Linked DNA regions of Homo sapiens: regions 2, 3, 4, 5, 6 and 7 are each linked to region 1. Evidence: promoter capture Hi-C in 16 types of primary human blood cells and fetal thymus (Javierre and others, 2016). All regions are on one chromosome and are shown on one strand. The core of a region is centred on a gene start or on the middle of the fragment in contact, and the rest is flanking DNA. Distances in the headings are between cores, read along the strand shown. Region 1 holds the start of H2BC12 (H2B clustered histone 12). Region 2 holds the start of H2BC6-AS1 (H2BC6 antisense RNA 1). Region 3 holds the start of H4C4 (H4 clustered histone 4). Region 4 holds the start of H1-3 (H1.3 linker histone, cluster member). Region 5 overlaps LOC124901287 (a long non-coding RNA gene). Region 6 holds the start of TRX-CAT1-4 (tRNA-iMet (anticodon CAT) 1-4). Region 7 holds the start of BTN3A2 (butyrophilin subfamily 3 member A2).

What was found. Contacts are between HindIII fragments. The CHiCAGO score rates a contact against its expected background, and 5 or more counts as called.
Region 2: a contact is called between the fragment with the promoter of H2BC6-AS1 here and the fragment with the promoter of H2BC12 in region 1, in 17 of 17 cell types (naive CD8 T cells, naive CD4 T cells, activated CD4 T cells and 14 more). The highest score is 31.8, in naive CD8 T cells.
Region 3: the fragment with the promoter of H4C4 here is called in contact with the fragment with the promoter of H2BC12 in region 1 in 17 of 17 cell types (non-activated CD4 T cells, total CD4 T cells, fetal thymus and 14 more); the score reaches 50.1 in non-activated CD4 T cells.
Region 4: a fragment that was not itself captured here is called in contact with the fragment with the promoter of H2BC12 in region 1 in 10 of 17 cell types (erythroblasts, naive B cells, activated CD4 T cells and 7 more); the score reaches 12.8 in erythroblasts.
Region 5: a contact is called between a fragment that was not itself captured here and the fragment with the promoter of H2BC12 in region 1, in 1 of 17 cell types (M0 macrophages). The highest score is 5.8, in M0 macrophages.
Region 6: a contact is called between a fragment that was not itself captured here and the fragment with the promoter of H2BC12 in region 1, in 11 of 17 cell types (erythroblasts, total CD8 T cells, activated CD4 T cells and 8 more). The highest score is 7.8, in erythroblasts.
Region 7: a contact is called between the fragment with the promoter of BTN3A2 here and the fragment with the promoter of H2BC12 in region 1, in 15 of 17 cell types (activated CD4 T cells, naive CD8 T cells, M2 macrophages and 12 more). The highest score is 21.1, in activated CD4 T cells.

Annotation. Positions count from the first base shown.
Region 1 is chr6:27,145,563-27,148,186 of GRCh38, forward strand. H2BC12 (H2B clustered histone 12) reads right to left here and starts at 1,293. Exons shown (of 1, transcript NM_001312653.2): 1 at 799-1,293. The coding sequence starts at 1,236. The coding sequence ends at 856. It overlaps H2AC12 (H2A clustered histone 12), which reads left to right and starts at 1,544. Exons shown (of 1, transcript NM_080596.3): 1 at 1,544-2,000. The coding sequence starts at 1,567. The coding sequence ends at 1,953. It overlaps MIR3143 (microRNA 3143), which reads left to right and starts at 2,064; the gene lies at 2,064-2,126. RefSeq lists enhancers at 191-300, 720-1,636, 891-1,350, 1,681-1,930. The HindIII fragment of the contact is 2,078 bases long and covers 106-2,183 here.
Region 2 is chr6:26,171,446-26,174,069 of GRCh38, forward strand. H2BC6-AS1 (H2BC6 antisense RNA 1) reads right to left here and starts at 1,328. Exons shown (of 3, transcript NR_186648.1): 1 at 590-1,328. RefSeq lists an enhancer at 402-1,294. The HindIII fragment of the contact is 22,011 bases long and covers 1-2,624 here.
Region 3 is chr6:26,187,797-26,190,420 of GRCh38, forward strand. H4C4 (H4 clustered histone 4) reads right to left here and starts at 1,316. Exons shown (of 1, transcript NM_003539.4): 1 at 914-1,316. The coding sequence starts at 1,280. The coding sequence ends at 969. RefSeq lists enhancers at 1-542, 1,325-1,504. The HindIII fragment of the contact is 9,357 bases long and covers 1-2,624 here.
Region 4 is chr6:26,233,126-26,235,749 of GRCh38, forward strand. It overlaps H1-3 (H1.3 linker histone, cluster member), which reads right to left and starts at 1,862. Exons shown (of 1, transcript NM_005320.3): 1 at 1,087-1,862. The coding sequence starts at 1,808. The coding sequence ends at 1,143. It also overlaps the pseudogene H2AC9P. RefSeq lists enhancers at 185-234, 1,065-1,474, 1,388-2,375. The HindIII fragment of the contact is 501 bases long and covers 1,060-1,560 here.
Region 5 is chr6:26,292,707-26,295,330 of GRCh38, forward strand. All of the region lies in intron 1 of LOC124901287 (a long non-coding RNA gene), which reads left to right. Among named protein-coding and RNA genes, the nearest start is that of TRR-TCG4-1, 5.7 kb to the right of the region's middle. The HindIII fragment of the contact is 3,127 bases long and covers 1-2,624 here.
Region 6 is chr6:26,328,982-26,331,605 of GRCh38, forward strand. It overlaps TRX-CAT1-4 (tRNA-iMet (anticodon CAT) 1-4), which reads right to left and starts at 1,391; the gene lies at 1,320-1,391. It overlaps TRW-CCA3-2 (tRNA-Trp (anticodon CCA) 3-2), which reads right to left and starts at 2,534; the gene lies at 2,463-2,534. LOC101928743 (a long non-coding RNA gene) reads right to left here. Exons shown (of 3, transcript XR_241992.5): 2 at 29-106. The HindIII fragment of the contact is 1,422 bases long and covers 627-2,048 here.
Region 7 is chr6:26,363,895-26,366,518 of GRCh38, forward strand. It overlaps BTN3A2 (butyrophilin subfamily 3 member A2), which reads left to right and starts at 1,304. Exons shown (of 11, transcript NM_007047.5): 1 at 1,304-1,458. RefSeq lists an enhancer at 1,262-1,311. The HindIII fragment of the contact is 4,055 bases long and covers 1-2,624 here.

The sequences.
Region 1 (2,624 bases), core at 43-2,542:
GTTCCCTTCTCCTCTACTCCAACTTCTTGCTTCGGGGCGGACTGTCTCTAGTCTGTCTGTTGTCTCCCCTCTGAATCTACTTGCTTTTCATTTTCCTTTTCTATAAGCTTTCTTGTCAAAAGGAAAAATTACTGATTGGACCAATTGACGCTGAACATGCCTTAAAAACTAGTAAACTATTCCAAAAATCTCCGTGATGATTTCATGTTCCGTTTCTTCACTCCTGAGAAAAGCTGTGCTCCTCCCCTTACCCTTGCAGACTATCCTGCCTGGTGGTCTGGCATCTTCCCGATGTCCCGTGGGCTGCAGAGATGGAATCAGGGGGTGAGGGGGAAGCAAAGCAAGGCAGAGCTGGGTACAGCCTAGAAGAGGTTAAATAAGGTAACTGCTCGAGCGAAAGCCATACGTACTGGAACGCCATCGGGAACCAAATTTACTAATATATAAACTCACGTTAGAACGCCATTACATGGTGGAAAGTACACGTGACACAATAGGCTTTCAACAAGTTCTAACAGGAAGTCACAGCACTCGACACAACGGAAGTATCCATTTTCGCGCCAAGAGCCAGGAAGCACTTTCTGTTAACACAAGTTTCCTGCACATCCCTAATTTTTTAGGCGCCATATTCCTCACTCAGTACTAACAAAGTGTATGTGGCTTCTCCTTAGCCAGACTCGATTACAAGCACTGCATGCATTACTCAGTGTGATAAGATCATGATAATCCCTTTAAAAAGATCGCCCGAATTTAAGCCTGGATTAGGAACACGTGTTTACAGCTCTAATATCGATAATTTAAGTGGCTCTTAAAAGAGCCTTTGGGGTTGGGCTTTAAGACGCTTACTTGGCAAGTTTACTTAGCGCTGGTGTACTTGGTGACGGCCTTGGTGCCCTCGGACACGGCGTGCTTGGCCAACTCCCCGGGCAGCAGCAGGCGCACGGCCGTCTGGATCTCCCTGGAGGTGATGGTCGAGCGCTTGTTGTAATGCGCCAGGCGGGAAGCCTCACCCGCGATGCGTTCGAAGATGTCGTTGACGAAGGAGTTCATGATTCCCATGGCCTTAGAGGAGATGCCGGTGTCGGGGTGGACCTGCTTCAGCACCTTGTACACGTATACGGAGTAGCTCTCCTTGCGGCTGCGCTTGCGCTTCTTGCCGTCCTTCTTCTGCGCCTTAGTCACGGCTTTCTTCGAGCCCTTCTTGGGCGCGGGAGCGGACTTCGCTGGTTCCGGCATGTTGAAGGCGAACTACGAGCCTGAGACGAGCAGCAGATCGAGAAAACGGGAAGTAATGGGAGCAAGGTACCAGGAGTCGTTTTTATATAGGACCTCTCATGCAAATAAGGTGAAGAGTGAAAGTCCTGTATCTGATTGGTGGTTATTAGGGTGACGTCAGAGGTTAGTTATACCCAATCAACCCAATCTGCAAATCCAAAAGACGTACTTCCATTGGTTAAAACTAAGCTACAACCCTAACCAATGACATATCTTCTTTTTCGCGCCCAATAGTGTTTATAAAAGGCGCTGCCTTTCCTCGTTGGCTACTTTCAGTAAGTTGTGACCAGTATGTCTGGACGTGGCAAGCAAGGCGGTAAAGCTCGCGCCAAGGCCAAGACCCGCTCTTCTCGGGCTGGGCTTCAGTTCCCCGTGGGCCGAGTGCACCGCCTGCTCCGCAAGGGTAATTATGCCGAGCGGGTTGGAGCCGGCGCGCCAGTGTACCTGGCTGCGGTGCTGGAGTACCTGACCGCTGAGATCCTGGAGCTGGCTGGCAATGCGGCCCGCGACAACAAGAAGACCCGTATCATCCCGCGTCACCTCCAACTGGCCATCCGCAACGACGAGGAGCTCAACAAGCTGCTGGGCAAAGTCACCATCGCGCAGGGTGGTGTCTTGCCCAATATCCAGGCCGTGCTGCTGCCTAAGAAGACTGAGAGCCACCATAAGGCCAAATAAGGAGCGAGGTTGTGAAAACTGGAAAACAAAGGCTCTTTTCAGAGCCATTCTACACTGTCTTAGAGAAAGCTGGACACAGTCATGTTTGTTTCACTTCATGTTTGCTTCGCTAGATAACATTGTAAAGCGCTTCTTTCGCGGTTGGGCTGGAGCAACTCTTTACAATGTTTCTAAATTAACCCACTGGAAAGCAATGAAGACCCAAAAGTTGTTGTAGGATACTCCGGAGAAGCTTATTCAGCAGGGGTAATAAGTGAAATCAAACGTACAAATCCCTGAAATCTATTTACTAATTCCAGTGGTTTTTTTTTTTTTTTTTTTTTTTTTGAGATGGAGTCTCCAACAGGCTGGAGTGCAGTGGCGCGGCGCGATCTCGGCTCACTGCAACCTCCACCTCCCAGGTTCAAGCGATTCTCCTGTCTCGGCCTCCCGAATAGCTGGGATTACAGGCACACACCACCACGACCGGCTAGTTTTTTTGTATTTTTAGTGGAGACGGGGTTCCACCATGGTGGCCAGGCTGGTCTCGAACTCCTGACCTCAGGTGATCCGCCCGCCTCGGCCTCCCAAAGTGCTGGGATTACAGGCGTGAGCCACAGCGCCCGGCCTCCAGTGTAATAATTCTATTACATTAATAGTGTTGTCAAACAGCCATAAAAATGGGATATACT
Region 2 (2,624 bases), core at 78-2,577, 970 kb before region 1:
GTCTGAGTGGATAAGGCCTAAGCACTGATGTGGCTTTGGTAATGAACCTGAAGTTAAAAACTGGTTAGCTTATGCTAAGCTGCCATTTGAAAGGTCTCCTCCAGCATCTGAATTAAGGGAAACAATGTTTTGAAGCAGTCACAAAACTTTTCTGATGCATTAGATCTGAGGTAGGACCTGATAATTTGTACTTCTAAATTATGCAGGTGATGCTGATGCTGCTGGTCCGGAGACCACTTTGGAGAGTTTTACTTTAAAGGAAATGAAACTGCCCTAAAATGCTAATACTAAATAGCCACACAAAGCCGGAAAAAAGCAAAGAATTTCAAACCGAAGATGAGAGGTCCTGAAAAATAACAGCGGTCATCCTACTCCCGGTGCGGCTATGCGGCCATGAAAAGGAGTCTTGGGGCCGGTCGTGCCCCTCCACGCAGGCTCCCTCATAGGGTCATCCCATCAACCCTCGCCAAAAACGCCGGCCCCCTCATAGGGCCGTCCGGCCACGCCCCTCCGTGCCCTAACCACAGAGCCACACGTTACGCCGCCGCCCCGTTACGCCCATCCGGCTCCCGCATAGGGCGTCACGTACGTTTAACGTCGGCCCGGCGCGCGCGTCCGGGAGGTTGCCCGTAGGCCGCTAACTGGTGGTTCCCAGTCCCCGCCGACTCGGCCTCTTTCTTCTGCGGCCACCAGATCGCGGGATATCGGAGACTTCGAACAATCCGCTGGAGTCCTTTACAGTTTAAAAACAGAGGACCGGCCGGGCGCGGTGGCTCACGCCTGTAATCCCAGCACTTTGGGAGGCCGAGGCGGGCGGATCACGAGTTCAGGAGATAGAGACCATCCTGGCTAACACCGTGAGACCCCGTCCCTATCAAAAGTACAAAAAAATTAGCCGGGTGTGGTGGCACGCGCCTGTAGTCCCAGCTACTCAGGAGGCTGAGGCAGAAGAATCGCTAGAACCAGGGAGGCGGAGGTTGCAGTGACCGAGATCGCGCCGCTGCACTCCAGCCTAGGCGACAGAGCGAGACTGCGTCTCAAAACAAAAAAAACGGAGGATCGAAAATTTTGAAGACTGAGAGCAAGGCAACAATCTTCCCTTGACCTTTTTGCTCCTCTCACAAGGGTTTTTCAGACGGCTGAAACCAACGAAAAGAGTGAGGAAGCAGGCAGAAAATTTCAGCTTTAGTCTCTCAGCATCCTCCTGCTTTCTTCTCGGGGAGCTGGCACTTCCCCCTTCTCTAGTAGCTGTAAATACGCCTCCCAACTCCAAGGAGACCTTTCTTGCATCTCCCTTACTGTTCTCACGCCTGTAGGGCTCTTCGTGTGAGGATTCAGTGTATGTATGTATGTATATGAATGTGTGCGAATAATTATTTCCTAATTGAGTTTTTTTTTAAAAAAATCATCTTCCGGTACACGCAGTGCCGTACTCCATTAAACAGCAGGCACGGTGTCTAGGGTCCGCAGTTCTTTTGGAGGCTCATGAAAATATTTTAATTTCTTCTAAAGTCAGAAGGAAAAAAATGAACATTTAAGTCGAAGAAGATGTTACATATTAATCTTCATATGACTTTAATTTTTTTTTTTTTTTTTTTGAAACGGAGTCTCGCTCTGTCCCCCAGGCTGGAGTACAGTGGCGCAGTCTCGGCTCACTGCAAGCTCTGCCTCCCGGGTTCACGCCATTCTCCTGCCTCAGCTTCCCGAGTAGCTGGGACTACAGTCACCACGCCCGACTAAGTTTTTTTGTATTTTTTAGTAGAGACGGGGTTTCACCGTGTTAGCCAGGATGGTCTCGATCTCCTGACCTCGTGATCCGCCCGCCTCGGCCTCCCAAAGTGCTGGGATTACAGGCGTGAGCCACAACGCCTGGCCTATGCCCACTAATTCCAATTCTTATTTGATCTAATTGTTTATAGATTCTTGTGAACTTTTACCTTGACAATTATGTTATTTTCAAAGATAATCATCTTTTCCTATTGAATCCTTGCTCTTCTGACTGCCTGTTCCTATCTCATGGTATTGGCCAAACCCTGTGATGCCGTGTTGAATAGGAGTACTTTCTCACCACACTTGTCTTCCTTCCGCCTCTATGGGAATCCTTCCAAAACGGCACCATTAAGTGTTATACTCGCTGTAGCTCCTCCTTATGAAGTTCTCTTCTCATTGTAGTCTGTTAAGTGTTTATGATTAAAGAGTGTTATATTTTGTTAAATGCTTTCGCAGTATCTTTGGAGATGATCATGTTTTTTCTTTATTAATCTCTTTTTTATTTTATTTATTTTATTTTATTTTATTTTATTTTTTATTATTTTAGTTTTTATTTTGAGATGGAATCTCACTCTGTCTCCCAGGCTGGAGTGCAGTGCCCTGATCTAAGCTCATTACAACCTCTACCTCCCAGGTTCAAGCGATTCTTCTGCCTCACTTTCCCAAGTAACAGGGACTACAGGTGCGTGCCACCACATCTGGCTAAGTTTTGTATTATCAGAAGAAGATAGGCCGCCATTGGCCAGGCTGGCCTTGAACTCCTGACATTAAGTGATCCACCTGCCTCAGCCTCCTAAAGTGCTAGGAATACAGGCGTGAGCCACTGCTCTGGGCCTTCCTTTATTAATTTCTTA
Region 3 (2,624 bases), core at 66-2,565, 960 kb before region 1:
AATTGGCCACGGGTACATAAATAAAAAGTCCTTTTAAATTCAACAATAGAAAATCAGTAGATCTGGATGGAAGGCAGCTCAGAGGAACAGAACCAAACAAGTTGGCCTCTCCCCATTCCACTAAAAAATGTTGAATCTTATGTACTTTCATGGTTGTTTCTCCCACGGTAATTACTACTTTCTTCTTTAAAGAATGTATTTGCCAGTCAAGTGCCTCCAACACACCTCCCATCCCCCCACACCAATAACCATCTGAATGCCATTTTGTCTTCCTTTCATATAACAATGCCTTGGTAGGAACTAGTAACTACCTCCATTTTTTTCACTATTCTTCACGGCAGCATCAGCCTTTACCACTTGCCTTCTGAGATACAGGTTTTGCTACCTTGTTTCTCCAGCAGCTACAGTCTTTGCTACCTTGTTTCTCTGATAGCCATGAAGAATGTTAGCAGCAGTTTGCCATGTTTCCTTACAGAAATACAGAAAACACAGGCCAAGCGTGGTGGCTCACGCCTGTAATCCCAGCACTTTCGGAGGCGGAGGAGGGAAATCTCTTTTGAGCTTGAGTTCAAGACCAGCCTGGGAAACATGGCGAAAACCCATCGCTGCAAAAAATACAAAGATTAGCCGGGTGTTGGTGGCGCAAGCCGGTTGCCCCAGCTACGCAAGAGGCTGAGGCACAAGAATCGTTTGAACCCGGGAGGCGGAGACTGCAGATTGCCGAGATCGCGCCATTGATTACTCCAGCATGGGCGACACAGCAAGAGTGAAAATAAACTTTAATACACTATCCTCACCGGCCAGTAAGATATGAAGCCAAGGCGTAATAAGACCATTTAACTTGAAAACCGGAGCTACTAAACACGTGAAACTACACTTTTAGCAGTGACTACTACTCTTTCTCCTGAGTGGATAGGTGGCCCTGAAAAGGGCCGTTGGTTTTGCGGTAGTGTACTGTAGAGGTAAGCTCAGCCGCCGAAGCCATAAAGAGTGCGTCCCTGGCGCTTGAGCGCGTACACCACGTCCATGGCTGTGACTGTCTTGCGTTTGGCGTGTTCCGTGTAGGTGACAGCATCGCGGATTACATTTTCCAGGAAAACTTTCAGCACTCCGCGAGTTTCCTCATAAATGAGGCCAGAAATACGCTTGACGCCGCCGCGGCGAGCCAGGCGGCGGATAGCGGGCTTGGTGATTCCTTGGATATTGTCACGCAATACCTTACGGTGACGCTTGGCGCCACCCTTACCTAGACCCTTTCCGCCCTTACCGCGGCCAGACATCTTGAAACCACAGCTGTTAAATCTGTAACGCAATACGTCTGGCAGAGCCACGCAGCACTTTTATAATAGCATGACGGACCTGTTTGAAAACCTCATGAGAAGGGGCGGGAACCACAGTCAGTTCCCGCCCTTCTGTGCAATTCTCCCTTGCTCAGACTGGAGGAGACCAAGAGGGGCCTGAGGCAACAAAAGAGCCTCAGCTGGGATTTAATAAATACTGCTAGGTATATATATATATATACACACACACTATACTTGCAGCCATTAACTGAGCCATCAGTTCATAAACTTTCGACAAAGAAGCCTGACAATTGTCCCCCACTTTTCCCAGAATATCAAATAATTAGTACTGTTTCCCTCACAGGGTGCTTTTTTTTTTTTTTTTTTTTTTTTTTTTTGAGACGGGTTCTTGCTCTGTTGCCCAGGCTGGAATGCAGTGGCACGATCTAGGCTCACTGCATCCTCTGCCTCCCGGATTCAAGCAATTCTCCTGCCTCAGCCTCCCGAGTAGCTGGGGTTACAGGCGCCCGCCACCATGCCCAGCTAATTTTGGTATTTTTTTAGTAGAGACGGGGTTTCACCATAGGCCAGGATGGTCTCGAACTCCTGACCTTGTGATCCACCTGCCTCGGCCTCCCAAAGTGCTAGGATTACAGGCGTGAGCCACCGCGCCGGGCCATAAGGTGCTTTCAAAGTATTTTAAGTAACTCATATCTTTATTGTCTCTGAGATTATTTTTATTGATTTATGCATTCCTAGTTAACCAAGCAGGGCTCTTTGGCATGCAGGCTAGATAGTGCTACTGAGGGAACTAAAAGTATATGAAAGTTACACATTTAGAGGTCAAATTAGGATAAGATCACCGAGGGCCGATTGAAAACATGACTATGTACACCCGTAAAAGAAAACCTTGTTGGGCTGAAATTTATGAAAATTTATGCTTTGATTGTGCCTTTAATCATGGACAGATTGTAGCTAGCACTGCATCATTCACCATATTCTATTACTCCAGCAAATTGGCATCATAGTATCCCTCCAAACTATCATAGAGACAGCCTGCTTGACATACATGCTGTGGGGGTGACCCTGGGCAAGCTATACTAAGTTTCCTTGTTGTAAATGTATTTTTAAAAATCTAACTTGTAAGTATTTGTTAAGTTGAAACAGATAATCCTATCAAAATGCTTAGAATAGTGTCTAGATTCCAAATAAGCAATGACTAAACATTAATTATGGTATAGTACAATATTGTGGGTGTTTTCAATTCCTATCCTTAAGGTTCACCCTTCTAAAGGGATGAGAGACAGTATTCTAATTTGCTAAAATCTGATTTCGAGAACTCCT
Region 4 (2,624 bases), core at 60-2,559, 910 kb before region 1:
CCAAAAGCAAGACCTGCTTTGCCACGCGGGCCTACAGTTGCCAGTAGGGCTAATACACCGCGTCCTCCGCAAATACAGCTACTCCGAGCGGGTTGGACCAGCATGCTAGTGTTACCTGGCGGCAGTGCTAGGAGGTTAAGAGTAGGCAGAAATAAATGAACAAGCAAGAGAGCCCCTGGGAAAATAAGTCCTGGAGACGCTGGCCACTGACAGAAAAAGACAATGGGCACACTTTTTATTTTGAGACGGAGTCTCGTTCTATCGCCCAGGCCGGAGTGCAAGTGGCGCGATCTCGGCTTACAACTTCCGCCTCCCGGGTTCAAGTGATTTTCTACCTCAGCCCCCAAGTAGCTGGAATTACAGGCGCGCGGCACCACGCCTGACTAATTTTTGTATTTTTTTTTAGCAGAGATGGGGCTTCACCATGTTCTTCAGGCTGGCCTCGAACTCCTGACCTCGTGATGCCCCCGCCTCGGCCTCCCAAAATGCTGGGATTACAGGAGAGCCACCTCGTCACGCAGTGCAGCCCCCACACTATTTACAAATACAGTACCTGAGGGCCGATATCCCAAAGCTAAGGCTTATCAAAGGCCTGCGAAAAGACAGACACCGGGCACCACCAGCAGTTGGCCATTCTCAACGACCAGCTGCACAAGATCGTGGGCCGGAAGCACCTTGGGCATGCCACGTACTGCTCACAACCAGGACGGGATGTGCTCAGGAAGTCACCTCAACGCTAAAGTAAACTAAAGCATTTACACCACATCCCTGTGTCAGAAATAAAATTTTTTCAGGGCCACTTTTAAGCGCCGCGCTTTAACAGAAATCGGCCGGCCAATCACACACCACCGCGGGAATTTGAAGAAAAAGTAGGACCTGGTGGCTCAAGTAGCCTTAGCTATCCGGTGACTGTGGCTGAGACTGAGACGGAAGGATCCTTGCGCCCAGGCTGCTGGGAGCTGTTAATAACTGACCCCCAACCAGCACGACTAGGATAGACCGTGGCCGCACAACACCGCAGCACCCGCACCCCTCTCCACCCCACTCCCCCCTCCAAAAAGCTTCAGCTCTTTTGACTGAGACCTGTGGGTGGCTCTGAAAAGAGCCGTTTAAAATTTTCAAAGGGGAACGTCCCGCCAGTTTCACTTTTTCTTCGGAGCTGCCTTCTTTGCCTTTGTAACCTTCGGCTTCCCCGACTTAGGCTTGGCCGCCTTGGGCTTAGGGGCTTTGGCCTTAGCTGGACTCTTGGCAGCTTTTTTTGGCTGAGGTGTTTTCACCTTTTTCGCACTCTTGGCCACTTTCTTGGTCCCAGCAGCGGTTGCTGGCTTCTTTACCTTCTTAGGAGTCTTTTTGATGCTTTTCTTCGGGGTAGCGGCGCCAGCCACCTTCTTGGGCTTCTTGGCTGCCCCAGCAGGCTTCCTAGGCTTGGCTGCGCCAGCCTTTTTGGCCTTGGGTTTGCCTTCCCCGGAAGCCGCTTTCTTGTTGAGTTTGAAGGAGCCAGAAGCACCGGTACCTTTGGTCTGCACCAGAGTACCTTTGCTCACCAAGCTCTTGAGGCCAAGCTTGATACGGCTGTTGTTTTTTTCTACATCGTAGCCAGCAGCCGCAAGCGCTTTCTTAAGCGCGGCCAGAGAAACGCCGCTGCGCTCCTTAGAAGCTGCCACTGCCTTGGTGATAAGCTCAGATACTGGGGGTCCGGATGCTTTGCGTTTCCCAGCAGTTGCGCCTGCCTTCTTCGCCTTTTTCTTCACAGGTGTTTTTTCTGCGGGTGCAGGAATGGTAGGAGCAAGTGGAGCAGTCTCCGACATGTTTTTGTCTTCCCAGAAAAGACAATAAGTAATCTCAAACTGTCAGAACAGCATGTCCTCTACGAGGGAGGCTGAGGGTTTATATAGAGAGACGCTGAGTGATGATTGGTTCCTTGCTCCATGCGCGGCGCTGCTGGAAAAGGACTCCTCGTATCTACCGCGCTGCTGTGTTTGTTGCCCCTTAAAAAAGAGTAAAAATATAAGAAATCTGGGCATGAAATAATTAGAGACTTGGGGGAAACTGATCCGAGAGAGTTCGGGCTTCATTCCTGCCTTTGTTTCTATGCATAGTTTTAAAACCGGCATCTTGAAACTTTTCTTATTCCCCCAACTCTCTTTCAAACTTCGGTCAAATCGAGACAACTTTCATGTTTTCCTTAAAAATACTATTTCTCCCTCTTTCATTTGCAAATCTCTCTTCCAGGGCATTGTTCTGTGAATTCTTACCGTCTCAACTTTATATAGATAAACTCATTTTTATCCAAATGTGCAGGGAAATTGGGTTTTTTCGCAGGAACAATAGCACAGGCTCTCTGGCGAGCTGTTTGCATCAACCTCTAGGAATTGGCACTGAGGTAGAAAGTTCTATGTACAAGAGGGGTGATTAGTTTAGAAAAGATAGTTTAAAAAAAAAAATAGTATTTGAGTTACCAGTGTGTAAGCTGGATTTGATCTCCATATTTCAGTGGTTTAAACATTTCCAGAAAGATAAGGGTGAGGCTACATTATTCCTCTTACAGAAAAAAAAGTCCTAAGTAGAGTTACCAACCTTCTCTTAAAAGTTAGGATCATGGATTTTTCCGATCTAGAATGGGC
Region 5 (2,624 bases), core at 71-2,570, 850 kb before region 1:
CTGGTTTAATCTGTGCATTTAATAGCTCTCAAATCATGTAGCAGTTGCCATTTTCCTGACATTTTTGGATCACAAATACAGGTGAATTCCAGGGGCTGACTATTCTGTATGTTCTGCTTCCAGTTGCTCTCTCACTAGCTGATGGAGTTGCATCAGTTTCTCCTGTGATAGGGGCCATTGATCCACCCACACAGGTTTGTCAGTCAGCCACTCTAGCGGCAAAGCAGTGGGTGGAGGAGAAATACCAATGACCCCCACCAAAAATCCTGATGACCTAGCCCTTTTCTGTTTTGTCCAGTTATTGATATTGGATCAGGGTTTCCCTGCAGGGGCTTTCCTAAGCCTTTTCCACTCTGAATCCCATTTTCTTTAACATTTTAAATCCTGGATTATCAATAGTTTCCTTTTTAAGTCTCATGTCCCATGCTGTCAGTAAATCTCGGCCCCATAGATTAACAGCTATATTTGCAACATAAGGTTGAAAAGTACATGACTGTCCATGTGGTCTGAGACAGGATAAAATCTCAGCACTCCACTGAACACTTTGAGCTTTCCTAGTCCCACTAAGGATGTAGAAGTTAATTGCAGGGGTCAAGATGGTGGGCCAATAGTGTTTGGATATTACTAACACATCAGCTCCCGTATCCATAAGCCCATAGAACTTCTTTCCTTTAATTTGCACTGTACAGGTGGGTCGATTAAATGCTATGGGTTGTGATAGATAAATTTACCGCCTAGTTGTACTTCCAAATCCTTGATTCCCTCGTTTTTCCTTTCATGGGGAAGGGTGCAACTTGCAGGGAATAAGCAATAGTTGAGCAGTATATTCTCCCAGTTCAAAAACCCAAAGATCTTGTGACATTACTACTACTTGAATTTCTCCTTCATAATCACAGTGAACAACTCCGGGGACCATGGTAATGCCCTGTAAGTTAAGACGGCTTTTGCCCAAAATTAATCCCATATATCCTGTTGGCAAAGGTCCCCAAATACCAGTGGGAATCTTCGTGGGTTTGTCTCCTCCAACAAATGTAACCCGTTCTCTGACTGGAAGATCTAATCCTGTGCTTCTGGGTGTTCCTGGGGAGAGGGAATCAATGTTCTTCTGGGAACCCATCCCTGAAATGGGGCTGTGGCCTGGATGGGGAATGCCCTCATTGTTTGAGGGGCCCGGATCCAGGCCCCCTTCTCGTTTCCCGACAGGGGGGTGCTATTCTGATGAAATTTTGAGCGGCATTGATTAACCCAATGATTTCCTTTATTACAACGAGTGAAAAGTCCTGGCATTTTTTCTGTCTGGGGGAACTGCATTATAAGATCCTCTCTGCCCAGAGGTCTGATGGCATTCTTTTTTGAAATGTCCAATTTTTCCACAATTATAACATTTTCCTACTTTAGGGCTTGACCCTTGGCCCTTTCTAGATTTGTTACTACTAAATTAGCCATTGCTTGAGCCAACATTGTAGAATGATGGAGTTCAGTTCCCACATCCTGACAGGCTTTGAGAAATTTTCCTAAGATCTTTGCAGACCTCACAGGTGCCAGAGCACGTTTACAATCTGCACTTGCATTTTCAAAAGCTAGAGTCAAAGTAAGCATTTCTGCAGCAGCGGTATGAGGAATCTGATGCCTCACTGCCTCTTGTAATTGTACAACAAAATGTGCATAGGACTCCTGCGACCCTTGCATAACTTGTAGAAAAGATTGTACTGGGACTCCTTGCTCTGGAATGGTGTCCCAGGCGCGTTTAGCAGCCAAGGCAGACTGCTTGTAAGCAGTGCCTGGGAGTGTCAATTGTCGCAGCAGATCTGAATAAGGGCCATTACCCAGTTGCATATCCTCTGTAATGTCCCCGTGTCCAGCAGCACGATTCTGTCTAGTCTGGTCTGCACACAGTTCTAGCCAGTTTAAATTCCATGTCAGATATGCACTACCAGACAAACAAGTGTGAGCCAAATGCTTTATATCAAAGGCTGGAAGGCACATAGCACCGAGTACAGATTCTAGCAATCCTAAAGTAAATGGGCTCTGTATTCCATTATTAACTACACTAGCTTTTAATTCCTTCAACAACTTAAACTCTACCGGGGTGTGTTCATAAGTAAACTGCTGTGGATTATTCAGATTGGGCCTTACGGAAATAGGAAAAGCGCAAGGTCCTAGGGGCTCTCCAGCTATGGCAGCAGCGCAGAGAATTCTTTGTGTTGGGGTCTCTTTCTGCTACTGAAGGAGGCGGTATAGATGTTTCTGCTATTGGGGGGATGGTACAGGCCAATTTTCGTCCTTTCCTGTTTATCATTTTCTTTTCTTTTCTTTTTTTTTTTTTTTTGAGACAGAGTCTCGCTCTGTCACCCAGGTTGGAGTGCAGTGGCACGATCTCAGCTCACTGCAAGCTCCGCCTCCCGGGTTCACGCCATTCTCCTGCCTCAGCCTCCCAAGTAGCTGGGACTACAGGCACCCACCACCACGCCTGGCTAATTTCCTTGCATTTTTAGTAGAGATGGGGTTTCACTGTGTTAGCCAGGATGGTCTCAAATCTCCTGACCTCACGATGCGCCCACCTCGGCCTCCCAAAGTACTGGGATTACAGGCGTGAGCCACTGTGCCTGGCCTCCTGTTTATCA
Region 6 (2,624 bases), core at 88-2,587, 820 kb before region 1:
AAACACCCAAAGAACATTCTCAGCTTACCACATATGCGCCTGAACTTGAAGTTTGTTGATTCCTTCTAAGTTTTGTTGGCAGGACGTGAACTCAGCTATTAAATTCCTGGTAAAGCGAGAGGTACAATATGTGACATATAATAACATGTACGACGTTTAAGAAAACTTTTGGCACCTATAGTCGTGGCTGAGTGGTTAAGCCTACTTTTTAAACATTTAAATAGCTTATTTTAAAATTATTTACCTACATATCTCTAAATAATATGTTTGTATGGACCTTCTGTTGACTTTATATAAGAGGAGTAACTGGTTCACTTTCTTCTTCACACCCCAGGACCCCCGACACACACATGCTCCCTTTCTAAGTCTTCTCATATGGTTATAGCACAATACATGATACTTTAATATTTGTAGCTTAAAATATGACAACTTTATAAACATAATTCAACAAGTGGGCAAAGAAATACATTGTTAAGTTTTCCTTTCCTTGCAATTTTTATTTTTCCCCGGCATTAGTACATAACTGTCTTTTCTTGTTGTTTTACTGCTTAAGCTTCTAGACACTTTTCATTAATTCAACCCCAAGCATTTCGTCAGTTGTCTAAACATTTCTCCAAAAGTTCAAAAGCTTTGCACAGTCTGTAGATTTCATCCTACTTTAAACATGTCTCCTTATGCATCTGTATTAGTTTGAGTAAACAGAAAAATAAGAACAGGAAAAAAAGTGTCACCTACAGCCTGCTCAAATCTGGACATGTTACTATATGTCACATATGGTACCTCTCATTTTACTAGGGATTTAATAATACTAGGTGAGTTCATGTCCTACTAATAAAACTCGGAAGGAATAGCTGAAATAACTTTTGAAGTTTGCTGTAAATATTAGTGTTTGTAATTATGCAGAACGGCGGTTTAGAGTTTTATCTTTGCTCTACCATTTACTAGCTGCATGACTTTGGGCAAGTTAGTTAACCTCTGCAAACCCCAACTTGCAGACAAACCCCAATTTGTCTCATTTGTAAAGTAAGAGTAATAGCAAGTATTTACTTCGTAGAATTGCGAGGAATAAATGATTCAGAACTTGGAATAGTGCATGGTATCTATTAACTGTTCAAACAATCAAAGCTAAAACTACTGCTTTTGTTATTTTTAATCTAATTAGGATAGTAATGTATTGCAACCAGAGATATAGATCTCTGAGAGAGGTGCAAATCAAAATAAGTTCCCTTACGGTGTCCATGACAATTATACCAATTTCCTCCTCCTATGAGGTAGATCTATTTTTGGAAGGGGGAAAAACAAATCCACAAAACGCTCCCTAGCAGAGGATGGTTTCGATCCATCGACCTCTGGGTTATGGGCCCAGCACGCTTCCGCTGCGCCACTCTGCTACGCGAGTCACAGGTCCCAGAGTTAATAGTCACCTTTTTTCTAGCGTGTCAAGTTTCCAAATCTCAAAATTATGTCTTCTCTCTTTTTTTTTTTTCCAGAGCAGTAATCTGTTCGTAATATGGCCATAGGCTTAGACTACTACTAAGAAAAGAGTTAATAAGAAATAGGAAAAAGGTTATTTTAGGTACACTTCTCCGATGTAATGTTTGTCACTGTGTATTGTGTGAATGTGTACAGTAAATACATAAGAGAAAATCTGCTAATATTTCAAATGTCATGTTTTAAAGTCATTGTAAGTTATAAAAATTTAAACACTTCTGAAGAAATAAACGTACTTTTCCTTTTTTCCATGTTGTAATTTGCTAATTCATAATCTGTAGGGGGTCTTGAGCCACATGTGGGGAAAAAAACGGCACATTCATGCACATTTTCAGATAATACTATAAGGGGGTTCACGGAATAGCTAGCCTTCTCTGATGTAATGGTTCATTCCCTGTATGAATTTGAGAAAGTAACTGCATTCAGGTTTTCTGCCTCTGGAAATCAAGTGACTTCTTCCGTGATTTGCAGGGAGGGTTGAGGAAATCGCAGAGATCCAGGGAAGTTCAATGGAATCGCTTTAGCCTGGAACAGCTGATCCAAATATGAAGCAGGTAAGCTTAGGTCATCCACTCAAACCAGACTACGTCTCTGCGAAGATCTGCTAAGCTTCTGAAGGTTGGAGAGACAGACATGGATGAAAAGATAAGGCCGCGGGCGTGGGAGTGAGTATGGAGAGAAGTCCAGGAGGGTTTAACAATAGGGATGAGTTGCTGAAGAGTATAATTCAGAATGTTTGCAATAAAAGAGTGAAAACGTCTCTATAAACCCGGAAATAAGCCCCAAAATACCATAACATATTCCTGTATATATCTTCCTACTAAAAAAAGAGAAGGGGGTAGTTTTGAGGAGGCTAAAGTAACTGAGTATACAAGTGCCTAAGAGAAGCAGGAAAAGCAACTTTTTTCCCCCTGTAATATGTAATGTACTCCCCGCCATACAGTTATCTGAGCCAGCGAGCTAAAAACTGTTGACCCCGACGTGATTTGAACACGCAACCTTCTGATCTGGAGTCAGACGCGCTACCGTTGCGCCACGAGGTCTCCGGGACACCTACGTTTTATTTACCTGTCAATCTGATTCATGAAAATAATTTCGGTACTGGTGAAGACCAGGCAGCTATTAACAGATAC
Region 7 (2,624 bases), core at 54-2,553, 780 kb before region 1:
TAAATAAATTTAGATGGTGACAGTCCAGGGCTGATCTGGCACCTCAGATATGTCATTCATGCCCCAGCCTGCTTCTGACTTCATTCTCTGCTGTCCCAGTGTGTGGCTTCCAACCTCAAGGCTGCCTCATGGTCCCAGGGTGGGCTACTGCACCTCCGGGTCCAAAGTCCATGTTCTAGGCAAGAGGAAGAAGGAAGAAGGGAGAGTGTACCCTCACACTCCCAGCTATTTTGGCCTCCCTTTGAAGGATTTCTGGGAGAAGTACAAGCCCACAACTTTCACCTACAAACCGCTGGCTCCAACTTAGTCCCTTGGCCTGCCCTATCTTCAAGGGGGAAGAGCAGGATGCAGTACCCCAGAAAATTAGGCCTTGTCACTAAGAAGAAGGGGGCATGCACGCTGCAGAAGCAACCAGCCATCTCAAGCAGATACCACACAGCCTAAATTCAAACTGTTGCAATATAATCAAATCCCATCAGCTCCAGTCACATATTAGCTCTAGGAGATTTCTGGCTTGCAGCCCAAAAAAGTGTGTTTTGAGGTCGTAAGCCACAGGGAGAACAAGATTGTCCCATAAACTCCTTACAGAGATGGTGTACAGGAAACGAGCCTTACAGAGACCACAGCCTATGGAGTGTCTAGCTTCAGAGAATATGTACTCCACTGGCAGCGTGAGAAACAAATACCCAAGAAAATACAATATAGCACAAACCAGGAGCTGAGGGTGAATGAAGATGCTCAGAAAGATCTGCAGTAAGAATTTCCTGGGAAAGGTAAAACAATGTCAAGCAGCACTGCCTCTGGAAATCAGAAAAATTATATTATTTGATACCATATCCTAAGCCTAAATGCCAGAAGTTCTTAAAGAGGTGCAGTTTGTCTCATTTTCTTTCCATTCATACCTTTATTAGGCTCTGTAAAAAAGATCCTCCTCTTCTACGTACCTATCTACATGCAAGCAAACTGCCACAGAAGCATCTTAATTAGTGCACATCTTCCTCTCTTTGCACATTAAATTTTTTTACTTTCCTACTCCATTCTGCTAATATTTCTATTACCATGTAAAAGACACGAGACAGGTGAATATAAAGAAATACTTATATACATCCACGCACAAGAATGATTCAAATAGATAAACACAGAAACACAAACACTAAGGGAGGTAGGGCTGGAGTTTTTCCTCAACGTGTACAATTCAATGTACTTTCAGTTTTCATTTCAACGTTCCTCAGTGGTTTCTGCCCAGCAACTGATGAGAAACATCACCTCTGAGCCAATCAAAAAACTAATTCTTCCAAAGAGCGACTCTTACTGTTTCTCATGGTGAGAAGACAATATTTGCTTTCTCTTTTTCCTTTCTTCCGGATGAGAGGCTAAGCCATAATAGAAAGAATGGAGAATTATTGATTGACCGTCTTTATTCTGTGGGCTCTGATTCTCCAATGGGAATACCAAGGGGTAAGTGCAGGAAATTGATTAGAGCCTGGGCTACAACGCATGGGAGGAGCGGGGCTGAATCGCTGAGAGTGGTGAGTGGGCATGCAGGGAGAGTACTCTCCCAGAGAAAGGGGTGCAGTGCCTGTGTGTGTGTGTGTGTGTGTGTGTGTGTGTGTGTGTGTGTGTACATGTGTACATGTGCACACTCGCACATGCACATATGGGCACGTGGGAAGACGGGAGAAGTACTGCAAAGTATAAGGAACTGCAGAGGTTGGGATTTAGTGGAAGGAAAGGGAGACAACATGAATGAAGAAATATTCCAACTGCATGTTCTTAACGTATTGTGGTCAGAAAAGGGCAAACAAACAAACAAACAAAAAACCCTTAAAATCTGTTCTGGCCAACTCAAGGCATCTATTCTGAGAAATTCTGAAGAAGAAGAAGAAAAAAGAGATGTGCCTCATAGATTTATATGTAAATGTGTTTATTACAGAAGTATTTATAATATAGTAAAATCTGAACCAACATACATATTCAACAGGTGGGGAATAGACAAACAATGCATGGTTCAGTCATAAAACATGTTCCATGTAACCATTAGGAATCATAATTTTAATTAAGTGAAATTCTTTATAATTTTAATAACACTGGATCCTTATATTAAACCATTTTTGGTATCTTTTAGGGATAGTACTTGGTTTTCTTTCCATTCATCATTTCCCCAAAACCTAAAGCATGATTTCCCATGGTTACAAGCTACTACATTGTATGAATATATAATTATTGGGAGTCTCTGTGAGCCTACTCTGACTCAGAAAGCCGCTCCTAAAGAAGAAAAAAGAACAAACAAACAAATAAAAAACCCGAATTATTTTTAAAACTCTTTATTTTGGATTTTTCAGTTTCTACATTTTGTTACTGTAGATTTTACTAGATTGAACAGCCTTATCCATAAATATTTGCATCAATCTCTAAATTTTTTTCTTCAACACTAACTTTTATAGTTGGAATTTTGGGGGCAAATAATACAACATTTTAAAGGCACTTGCCATGTGTACATGGCCAAATGCTTCCAGAAACATTTCCACTTCCATTAGCAAAGTATATAACTACAGAGTATTTAAGGTTTTATTCCTTTATATTTTTTTCTTTGGCAAAATTGTCTATAGTAGAAAGAATGAATA